2 separate regions of the Homo sapiens genome follow, and region 1 is linked to region 2. The links are contacts of gene promoters, found by promoter capture Hi-C in blood cells and fetal thymus (Javierre and others, 2016). All regions are on one chromosome and are shown on one strand. Each heading gives the region's core, a stretch centred on a gene start or on the middle of the fragment in contact. The rest is flanking DNA. Distances are from core to core; before and after follow the strand shown.

Region 1 (5,851 bases), core at 114-2,613, 1.8 Mb before region 2:
TAAAGGACCAGCCTCAGGCTTGGTCCCAGGTAGTGACCCAGCTCTGAGAGTCCCTGGACGGCTCCCGAGACTCAGTGAATATATTTGGGATGCCCCCCGCGCTGGATCATGGGCTTCCCAACACCGCTGGCCTTGAATGATTCGGGCCTAATTCGTTATGGTTAAGATTTCAGATAATCTAAGACGGGTTGAGGCCTCCAGAAGCGGAGGCTTCCTGTTGGGCGCTGCCAGTGACTTGGGGATGAAGCTATGGAAGAATATCTGAGTGTTTCTCTTTTGCTTCTATAAAAGTAATTAATGACCTGTATTTACACACCAAAACCCTGCGAGCAACTTTGGGACATAGAGGGATATAATCCTTCTCAGAATCACTTTGAGATTGCAAAAACCGGCAGCAGCTATTATTGGGGTCTCCTCTGGCCAGGGTTCTCATATTATCTCACCTCCATGCCTACTTTCCAAGGTTGTTTCAAGCATTAATGTCCCATAATTTACAGATCTGGGGGAAAATAATGGTAAGTTAGGAGGCCAGATCCCCTGCAGAAACATCACATATTTTTAATTTTTCTTATAGCTGACCTTTTGAAGCTTTACTCTTTATTATTGTACATTTCCTATCTCTGGAAGGCTGTGGTTAAATGTGCATGCTGCCTTGTTTCTACTCTGTTTTGTTTGTTTTTATTAGGTTGGTAAATTTTGAGAAAATGACCTGGACTGCTGGGACTCTTGGGGAGGGGTTGTGTCAGGAGGGTACTGAACTGGAGAACAAGAAGTATGGTAGGTATCAGGGAGGGGCAGGCTCGGAGGCAGACCCGGATGGGAGTCTGGGGAAACTCAGGGCCTGGAGCAGTCATTGGGCAAGAAGATGGGCAGTTCTAGTGATGGTCATGCTTACTGTCCTTGGTAACTGCAGGCACCCTCACCGTCTTACATTCTTCTTTTTCACTGAGTTCTCTCCCTAGGGCCTTTGCCCATGATATTACAGGAGGAGCTTTTCTCCCACATGTCCAGATGACTCACTTCCCCTGCTTCTTTCAGGTCTCTGTCCAGTTGTCAGCTTATAGGGGGCCTTCCCTGGCTACCCCATATAAAATAGCAGCCAGACACTCCCTGGGCCTCTTATGTTACTCAGTTTTTTGTCTTAGTACCTTTTACTCCCTGGCATTATACAGTCATTGGTGTATTTTGAGTATTGTCTCTCTCCCTGTTAGAGCAGAAGTTCCATGAGGGTAGTGACTACCTTGTCTTGTTTACAGCTCCAGAACCTGGATGGATTCTTAGCATGATGTCGGTGCTCAATAAGTGTTTGTTGACTGACTAAATGAGAGGTGGCTATACTGGGAGAGATCCACCAGGGAAATATACCAGGAAAATGTTGCAGCATTAGTGCAAGTGAGAAGCCCAGGTAATGGGCTTTTGCTTTTTTCGCTGTCCTTTCCCCCATGCCAGGCCACTCTTCTTTTAGACTCTGTTCTGCCTTGAGTAGACTCCTCCCTTTTTCTGCCTGAAGAAAGGAACAGAGAGGTGATTCCTTGGGAGATTAGATAACCAGTACACTTAATGACACATAACCATTCCAGATCTGGTGTTTCATCACTCTCCTTGGAGAAGGTCTTTTAAAGAAGTCTGTGTTGCTTTAGCCTAGGAGGAAGGGCATGATTGTAAGGGGATTGAAGTCAGAGGCATCTACTGTGTCCCATTCTGCTCTCCTACAATATGGAAGTGAAGACAGGAGGCTGTAAGGGAGGCTGTGTGGCAGATGCAGGGGAGATGAGAAATGCCTAGGAGAAGAAAAATAAAAGTGAGAAAACATTAAGGTGTTCTGCAGGTGCAGCTAAGTCTTGAACATTTACTAAATTACTATATTGAAAAGAAGCTAACTCTTGAGTGTTTCAAAGTAATTTAACCCCTTTGGGTGTTTGGTGTGAGTGGGTGGGGCGGGTGGGGAAAGGGCTTTGAAGCCTTTGCTGAAGGATGTGGCTGGGGGTGAGGCAAGGAGCTCACCTGATCACACACTGTGCTTACTTCATCAGGTTGCCTAATGCTCAAGGGTTAAAGGTGATCATTCCTATGGAGGTAACATTTCCCTTCCAGATCTAAGACAGTGGATACAATTAAGGTTTGTAACTCAAGCTTGTAACCACTTTTTGGTGCCTGAAACCATCCAAGTAGATAGTTTGGTTTATAAGACATTCTGTTGAATCTGGAAAACGTGGTGGATTAAGAAACCCTCTCTGCATCACAAAGCCTGGAGTGTTTGCTACTAATTGTGCAACTTTAGTTCTGGTTCCTTCTAGTCAACCAGAGAAGTGCTTTTTAAGCTTACGGCTGTAACCCATGAGCGGATCATGATATCACTTTAGTAGGCCAAGACCAGCAGTTTAAAATGTGAAAGAGAAGAGTGGTGTGGAAAACAGCATTTCATAAAACAGACACCCAGTCTTAATGTCAAAGTATTGCTCAGTGTAGGTAACGATTTTAAAAAGCCTGTTTCAATAATTCTGGGGAAAACTACATTTTTAACCAACTTGCCAGGGATTCTGATGACGACGTTCTAGAGGGCTACAAGAAATACTTAGCTATCTCCTTTTAACAAAATACTGTTGGTTTAACCCCCTGCAGGAGATGCTATTTCCAAATGTTGAACCAGATGCAGTTCTGTCGGCTATTGACTTAACTTTTCAAAATGCTACTATTGGCCGGGCGCGGTGGCTCACGCCTCTAATCCCAGCACTTTGGGAGTCCGAGGCGGGTGGATTGCGAGGTCAGGAGATCCAGACCATCCTGGCTAAGGCGGTGAAACCCCGTCTCTATTGAAAATACAAAAAAAATTAGCCGGGCGTGGTAGTGGGTGCCTGTAGTCCCAGCTGCTCTGGAGGCTGAGGTAGGAGAATTGAGTGAACCCGGGAGGCAGAGCTTACAGTGAGCTGAGATTGCGCCACTGCACTCCAGCCTGGGCGACAGAGCAAGACTCCATCTCAAAAAAAAAAATGCCACTATTTGTAGAACTTGCCAGTGCGCTAGGCCCTCATGCTGCCATCTTGGAGGAACTAGAAACTCAAGTGACATGCTTTTCACTTTAGTGATGCAGAAAGGCAGTAGCTCCCTTTGCAATAACTCTTTAACCTTACTTAGAATAAAATCGACAGACTATCCCCTTTTCTCACCAAGTTTTAGTTTAGAACTTTTGAGGTCTTTGGAAATTTACTCTGCTCAACTTCTCCTTTCATATTTTACATCTAGTGTTCCCCACATGAATGATTCTAATTACAAAGACAGTTGTAATCTCTTCTGGAGGCAGCCACACTGCTGGGATGCATGATTAGGTGAAGCATTTTAGCTGACCTGGGCTTGGATTGGCTATCCAAAGAAGAAAGTCAAAGGCTGACAACTCAGCCTGGGCAACATAGCGAGACCACATCTCTCAAAAGTTAAAAAATTAGCTGGGTATGATGGCATGCACCTGTAGTCCCAGCTACTTGGTAGGCTGAGGCAAGAGAATGGCTTGAGTCCAGGAGTCTGAGGCTGCAGTGAGCTGTGATCTCACCACGGTGCTCCAGGTTGGGGGACAGAAAAAGACCCCATCTCTTTAAAAAAAGAGTCTGAGAACTTCTGCACTGTCCATAATAAAAGGATCATGAAGGCCAGTCATTCCACAGGGTGTGGCTCCCAGGACCATGTGTGTGGCCATGAAAGCCTTCCAGTATGCCAGCACAGCATTTTTAGGTTCAGCAAAGCCAGCCTGCATGTACAATGCACACACTGGTTGCAATGCTTATTTCCCTGGATAATTTGGGTTGTTTGAGTGTTAACAATTGGAACTTATCTATATTAGCCAGAACTAAAGCCTGCAAAGCCATATCATGATTCCTGATTACATTAACTACTTGTGTCTTAGTGCTGTATTTTCTAACCTGTTACAATATAAGTGCAGGTACGGTACGAGCAGAATTTGGTCATTGGCCTAAGGTGGGGTGAACAGTTAAGTATCAGATAGGAATACGTGTGGGAGAAGGAATGCTAGCTCATCAAACAGAATTAACTACAGTAACAAACTGGCATAGTGCTGAGTCGAGAAATTAGTCACATGTATAAATAGAAGGAGACGATTCTCAGTGTTCCGGGCCCCCACAAACACTGATTTCCAGAATCTGAACAGAATTATTATTGGAACTTCAATTTTAGGAATTGAGGCTACAGTTTTGACTGTTTTAGTTCTAACAGTTAAGGTAGAAAACAAAACTTTCCTCAGTAGAAAACACTGGAGAGGCACAACTTGCTGGACTAAGGACTGAGATGTGTTCAGTGGGTTGTACTCTGGATAGGGAATGGTGGTTTGAGGGAATGAAAATCAGGTAAGCCCTATAAAGCATTCTCTCAGTGGAGGTGGAGTCATAGGATCAATGCGACATTTTTCTCTGTGGCCTGACACACCCTTCCTCTGGGGATGCTGTTTTGGAAATGATGGAGAACAGTCAGAATAGTATTGTTATCCCATTTTACAGATGTGGCTTGGAGGAATGAAATGTCACAAGCATACTTAGAGAGTGCATCTGAGCCTTAAACCCAACTTTTCTGACTCGTTTTACTGCGTTGTTTCTTTCTCCTGCACCATGATGTCTGCACTGGTTAGTTCCTTCTTTTGTTGGTTCACTGGACTTGCCAGCCTCTGAGGCCAGGATGCCATGTGGAGCTATGCTGCAGTGGTGTCCAGAGAGGCTCTTCACTCCTGTATGTCCTGCAGATGGATGTGCCCTGGGTTGCCATGGTATCCAGGGATGTCAATGCTGCCACTGAGTCCTAGTTCTTCAGAGTCAATCCCTCTCTTTGGGTATCTCATTCTAAAGTTGACCTTAGTTTTGAGAGTCAATGGATTCTTCTCTCAGGGACAGTATGTCCATCAGCCAACCTCATGATATTGAAGCATATGAGCTAGAATGCAATTTATTAATAAAAAATGAGAACAGTATTTGCCAAGAAGAATGGGCGTTTATTCTTTAGCCAACATTTTTCCTCTGTGGATGAGTCATGGTGAAGGCAAAAGCATGGAACCACCTGGGAAGGAACCAGTTGGAAGGGGAATATACTTGACAGTGTTTTCCAGCTCCTCATAACTTTTGCTAATTCTCTTGTTGATAGATTCATACCAACTAAGAAAACCAGAGACTGGAGTCCTTTGACCGTGATGGTTTCTCCTTTGGGCGATGCTGAGGCTACTTGTACGGTTCTTTTTCTACTTGTAGGCTGTTGGCCATTTTACTGACCCATTATTTCAGGCAGTGTCAGCCTCAGTGCTATTGACATTTCGGGCTGGATAATCCTTTGTTGTAAGGGCTGTCCTGTGTACTGTCGAATGTTTACTGCCTTCCCTGGCCTCTGTTCACTAATGCCAGTACATTAGTCGTTTGTGACAACCCCAGATGTCTCCAGGTATTGCAGATTGTCCTATCAATTTTCCTGTCCCCAAGCTGAGAACTGCTGCTTTGTCTTCCTGTGTTAGTGAGACCAGTTGTGTGTTATCAGATAGTCTAGACTTTCAACAGCAGTTATAAGTGCCCCAGTTTTCTCCTTACTGGTTATTCCTTAGAGTCTAAGGTGGTGTATTAATAAATGAGAGGGCTCACCCTTTATGTTCATTTCTTTCCTCCAGCTCTCCAAGTTTCCTTTCTAGCTCTCTTCTCTCTTATACTGCAGTTGTTTCTCTAATCCAAATGTTTTTCAAGTTTCCTTTCCATGCATGTTTCTTCCTAGTACCTGTGGCTGAAAAACACTGTAACTAGTGAGTTTTTGTCTCAGTTTCTTAACAACGTTTTGAATTCTGACCACTGGTTACTGCCTTAACTGTAACCTT
Region 2 (6,044 bases), core at 923-3,422:
CTTCAAAGGAGTCTGAGAAAATAACTTTAGCTAGAATTAAAGTTCCATTAGAGTGCCTGGGTAGACAAAGAAGAGTCAGCTACAGAAGGCCAGTATCATAGCAAGTTGTTGCTCCATGACTGGAAACAAAGAAGACTTCACTCTTTACTTCAGATGCGCAGTTGATAGAGTACAGCTAAGATATGGTACGTGTTCTACCATGAAGAGCAAGAGCAAGGTGAGGGAGGGTACGGTGTAAGAGATCCTGCTGCATTAGCTGTTGAGAGGAAGAATTTCCTCCTGGTCACTATGTTACTGGGGGTCCTTGCTCCCCAAGTTCCCAAGATGGTGGCAGGTCGCTTCCAAGATGGTGACGGGCCACTTCCGAGATGGTGGCAAGTCTTGTGTTCTCTGACCTGGGGTTCTTGGCCTCATGGATTCCAAGGAATGGAATCTTGGGCCAAGCGGCGAGTGTTATAGCTCTATTAGAAGCTGTGGGTCATGGAAGAGAATCGTGGAACCCAGTGACTAGTGTTTAGCTAGATTAGGACGAACCTGGGCACTTAGCCCTGCAGGAACAAGGGCAAGCCTTTAGCCCGATCAGGAGCAGCAATGGGCGCCTCGCTGGATCCAGAGGGATGGAAGTCAGCTGTGGGTCTGTGACAGCGGCAGACAGCAGTGGTGGACGGTGAGCGAAAGCTCAGCTTGAGCTGTGACACACACGTACCAGAAAAGTGTGCAATTGCAAGATTTAATAGAGTGAAAACAGAGCTTCCATACAAAGGGAGGGGACCCAAAGAGGGTAGCCACCGCTGGCTTGAATGCCTGGGTTTATATCCTGATCATTGTCCCTCCTGTTGTGCTCTCAGGCGATAGATGATTGGCTACTTCTTTACCTCCTGTTTTTCCCTAATTAGCATTTTAGTGAGCTCTCTTTACTACCTGATTGGTCGGGTGTGAGCTAAATTGCAAGCCCCGTGTTTAAAGGTGGACGTGGTCAATTTCCCAGCTAGGCTTAGGGATTCTTAGCCAGCCTAGGAAATCCAACTAGTCCTGTCTCTCAGTACCCCCTCTCAACAGGAAAACCCAAGTGCTATTGGGGAGGTTTGACCACCGCTCTAACTGCTTCCTGCTGAATTGGGGCACAGTAGGGGTTGTGCAGTTGAGATTTCCTCCGTAGGGGTGCCTTGTCTCTCAACTAATTCAGTGGTGGCTACCTCGAAGCCCTTCTGAAGCTAAGAGGGAAAGAGACCAGCTCGCAAAGTCCCCTATGTTATCTACTCCTAAGTGGAAGCTGGGAGCTGTGAAAATGCACATCTAACAACCCTTAACTTACTATACCGACTTCTAAACCACAGTAGAAAATGAAGAAAAGTTCGGCTATGGGCAATAGACTCAACCTTTTGTTCTATGTCTAACCTATAAAATAGAAAAATAATACTGTCATCCCTCATCTCCCACCATACTGAACACGCATTAGGTGCTCAATGAATACTTGTCCATTTTAGTGAAGATTAAGAGGAATGAGACGGAAACTGACACTTGAGAGGCTGGCACACGCCAGAACTGCACCACACTTTGCACTCATAGCTCATTTACTCATCAGCTTGTGGTCAGGTAGGCATTACCGTCCCCATTAGAGAAGTCAACGGAGGCTCAGCAAGGACGGCCAGGGTCCCCCAGAAAGTAGAGGAGGACTTCAGGTTTAACCAAAAGCCTGTACTCTTTACACATGTACCCCATGCCTTCTCCACCAAAGCTCCTGGCACCGTGCTTTGCAGACAGACGACGCTCAACACATTTTGAGCAGAAGCGTGGTTCAGCACCAGGAAGGACACCAACTTTTGCAGAGACGACTCTTGGGATGGAGAAAGACTTCCCAAATCTTCAGGGTGCGGTCAAGACAGGGTAGGCTAGCGCCAGGGGAGCTAGTGGCTAGGCCCCAGGGCAGCTGGGGCCGAGGCCGAGCAAACGGCCAGGGGAGAGGCTCCCAGGAGCCCGATCTGCCGCTGGGCGACGCGAAGCCTGGCGGCTAGAGTCCCGGGCAGCCCGAGCACGGCGGGAAGGCGGCAGCAACAGGATCGGCAGGGATGGCGGGGACGGGGGAGGTCCATGTGCAGGGGCGTGCCGCCGGTGACGCACTTCCGCCCTGCCTGTTCCGGCTTAAAGGGGCCCCAGACAATCCTCGCAATAACAACAAAACCGGCGCGCCAGCGGTGGCGCAACGGCTCTCGTCCCCGCCCTCCTGCTACCTGTAGTCGCCTGGGCCGCCCCCGGCCCAGCCCTGCCTTGCCGCCACCCTGCGCTGTCCAGACTGAGGGGTCAGGCGGAGAGCCGGGCCGCGCCTTCGGTCAGCTTCTCTCCCTTTCACCCGCGCCTCCTCGCGAGACCCGGGGCTGGGCCGTGCCGGTCGCCGCGCAGCAGGAAGGGAGCGGCTGCCACGGAAAACGCCTGGCCGGACGGTGTGGCTGGCGGCCCTGCCTGGGCGCGGAGGGCGGCGGTGGCGGGCCCCGCGGCCTTCTCTCAGGTACCCCAGTGCCCGCTGACCGCCCTGAGCGGCCCAGCTGCTTCCCCGATCCGCACCGCGGGGCCGTGGCGTAGGGGCCTTGTTGCGTTCCAGCTTGGGGGTCGCGGTGGGGCGGGGCAGTGACCCCGGGCCGGCCGTTGTGCCCTCATCCCTCCCACCCTTCCTTCGTATAGCTTCCTTTCTCCTCACGACGGCCTCCACAGTCCGGAGCCCGGCGGAGCCCGGACCTGGCGGGGAGAGCTGCCTCCACGGCCGGGCACCCAGACCCCACCGTCGCAGTCGCCACCACCTCAGTCCATCCTTGGTACCGGCAATGGGCTTCGTATCCTCCAGTGCACTTGTAACTGACTTGGACACGGAATACTAAGAACTCACTTCTGTCCTCATCCCAGTCGCGCCGGCGGTGACCATCTCGGCTCTTTTGGGCTTAACTGCCGCTCCTCTGGACTCTGTCTGACTTTGGGGGCACCATGGACCAAAGTGGGATGGAGATTCCTGTGACCCTCATCATTAAAGCACCGAATCAGAAATACAGTGACCAGACTATTAGCTGCTTCTTGAACTGGACCGTGGGGAAACTAAAAACGCATCTATCTAACGTTTACCCTAGCAAACCAGTAAGTGTGTAAAAGCTGGGGGCAGCTGCTCTGACCAGCAGCTTTTCGTGCCGTGTACCCTCCTTTTTCCTGCTTCTCCCCTCCAGTCTTGAATCAAATAGGTCTCTTTTGGTAGACCGCGAGGTATTTTGAGTTCTGAGGTTGTGTCTCCTGAGTGTTCGAACCATCATTAATATTTTCCTGATGAGGTTCAGTTAATTAGTAAGAGGAAGCAGAAATATCAAGGGACTTAAGAATTGGCAGGCAAAGACCGGGCGCGGTGGCTCACACCTGTAATCCCAGCACTTTGGGAGGCCAAGGCGGGCGGATCACGAGGTCAGGAGTTCGAGACCAGCCTTACCAACATGGTGAAACCCTATGTCTACTGAAAATACAAAAATTAGCTGGGCGTGGTGGCGCATGCTTGTAATCCCAGCTACTCAGGAGGCTGAGGCAGGAGAATCGCTTGAACCCGGGAGGCGGAGGTTGCAGTGAGCCAAGATCGCACCACTGCCCTCCAGCCTGAGTGGCACAGTGAGACTCTGTCTCAAAGAATTGGCAGGCATGGAAAAGGGACTACTTTCTTTGGACTTAAAGTCATCAACCTAATATGCGAGTGAGAGATATATCCTTTCTTAAAAAAAAAAAAGATAAAGCACTACAACCCGTATCAGAGCTTTTATTGCTTATTACACTAAAATTCCATTTTACTTTCAACACTTGGCCCAGAAACTTAAACAGAAATTGAAGATTTTTTTTTCTTAGAAATAAGTATGTGTCCCCTATAAAAATTATACTTTCAAGGTTACTATATATGTTTCAAGGACCAAAGAATTATAAGTTGTAGATTCGTTTTCACCACAACCCCTTTCAACATTTTTCTCCTGTAGAGGATACATGGACATTAGTTTAAAAGAGAACTGCCCTCCACCCCACCACCATTTGGTGCATCCCTCTCATATGGCTTTTCCATTCTGTGTTCCATTCTGAATCATAACTGGATATTGCAGAGATAATAAATAAAATATAGACAGTACAGCTCCATCTGTCCCCAAAGTCAGATTTGAAAGGCCGTGGTTGGTAATCAAGGAGTCTTGGAATAGTTTAGAAAAGAAGTATACCGTCATGTAGAGTACTGTATATGAAAGTGAGGCTTTCGCATTCTCCACTGTATACATTTTTTATTCTTGAATAAGTAGTGTTTAATTACTAAAACTTTTGTTTAATAAAGAGGGTCGGATTTTAGGGTGGGAAATAACTTTTGGCATCAGGTACATTTAAGCATGGATCTGTTGGAAGGCAACTATGCTTTCTACACTTAACACTTGTTTTATGCACCTAAGTTAAGGAAGACACTTGATCTATATTACGATATTAATGAATTATGAGCATTTCAGTGTTGTAGTATTAAGTTTAGTTAGGCTTTTAGACTTGCAGAAGAACCACAGAAATAGGACGGTTATTGCAAAAACAGGAGGTTTAGAAAAACAACTCTTAATCGGCATTAGCTGTGTTTATCAGTACTTTGTGATACAAATATTTTTAGTAGGAGGGAAAAAAAACCCTGAGGAATTTAAGTACTTAAACTAGTTAGAGCCCCTGTTTATTCACATCTTTTGTTTGAAAGTTAAGATTTACACAGGGAGTAAGAATCTGTTTGAAAATACCTTGATTACAAAAGATTTCCTGTTGCATATGATTAGTTTCACACATTTTTGAAGTGGAAAATAGGTTTTTAGGATAGTCAATTGAAAGTCATAGACTTCCATAATACTGTTCATAGCAAATATATGCTCTGGTATGTACGTAGGCGAGATCTTTACATTGTACTATTAAACCAAAAGGGACCTAGTCTGCAGTTTATAGACTTTTTTCTAAAGCTTTTTTAAAAAAAAGTACCTGAGACGGGAGTGGGAAGCCTGTCTGCCTTATCTACCCATGAAGAGGCCTGCTTTTGGCAGGAGGTCTGCCTGTGCAGCACTGATCACTAGTGGAGGATGTCAGTGCCGCTGTGCATTAGTTAGCTGTCTGAGGATGAGATCTGTTACAGAACTCCTTCCCAAACTGCCTGCCTCCTGTAGCCACACTGGAGACACTTTTGGAGGCTAAACCAAATACTATGCAGCCTATTAATGATTAACATGGCAAACCTTTTTTTCTCCTTTGACAAGTTTTCTTTAAGTGAATTGTAATGTCTGACTTTCATTTCTAGGTTGAGTGGGTGGAGCTCTGGAGCGGTGGGGGTATGTGTGTTTATCGTCATAGAATTTCACTGAAAACTTTGTATAGTTACTAGATTTAGTAAGTTTACATTCTTATCACGTGAGAATTGATTTGAAGCATCACAGTTGTTGAGCAGCAGTTTAATGGTATCGCAAAGCCATAGGTAGTCCTCAGCATAGGAGTTGGAGTCCTAAAAGTTTACTTTGTAAGGTCATTATTTAGAATTCAGCACAGTTTGCTATTAAGTAATATTATAAAGGAAGTTTAGGTTTTTCTGACCGCCTGCAATGACTAAACATTGATTCTGTGTTTTAGTTTTCAAGTGCTGTTATGTTTAACAGAGATAATTTCTTGTGCATCTTCCTTGCACATATGCCTACTTTCATTATCAGTGTGTGGACTTAGCAGAGTAGGGCTCCAGTGCTTTGTAGGAACAGGAGTGCCCCAGTAAGTAAAAAGTTGATGGCTCTCATCAACATTGCTCTAATTGGATCTGATGGGTCAGGAGTAGGTGGAGGGACTTTGTTCCTGTGGGCAGTGGCTTCTAGGAAAATAAATTGGTGCTGCTAGAGGGGAAAGAATGGAAATTTGAGATTGTCCTTTTAGGATCCTACAAAGATAGGTCATATGTCTATATGCTGTTAATGGAATTCTGGCTGAACTCTATGAAGTTGTAAAATCTTGGGATCCTAGCTTCATGGTCAGATATTGATTTGACT

What was found. Contacts are between HindIII fragments. The CHiCAGO score rates a contact against its expected background, and 5 or more counts as called.
Region 1: a contact is called between a fragment that was not itself captured here and the fragment with the promoter of HERPUD2 in region 2, in 1 of 17 cell types (activated CD4 T cells). The highest score is 5.9, in activated CD4 T cells.

Annotation. Positions count from the first base shown.
Region 1 is chr7:37,441,660-37,447,510 of GRCh38, reverse strand. The region is part of intron 1 of ELMO1 (engulfment and cell motility 1); the gene reads left to right. Among named protein-coding and RNA genes, the nearest start is that of ELMO1, 4.3 kb to the left of the region's middle. The HindIII fragment of the contact is 1,545 bases long and covers 591-2,135 here.
Region 2 is chr7:35,691,263-35,697,306 of GRCh38, reverse strand. HERPUD2 (HERPUD family member 2) reads left to right here and starts at 2,172. Exons shown (of 9, transcript NM_022373.5): 1 at 2,172-2,506; 2 at 2,680-3,123. The coding sequence starts at 2,977. HERPUD2-AS1 (HERPUD2 antisense RNA 1) reads right to left here and starts at 2,101. Exons shown (of 1, transcript NR_136255.1): 1 at 1-2,101. RefSeq lists a silencer at 2,294-2,703 and an enhancer at 2,146-3,033. The HindIII fragment of the contact is 10,108 bases long and covers 1-4,984 here.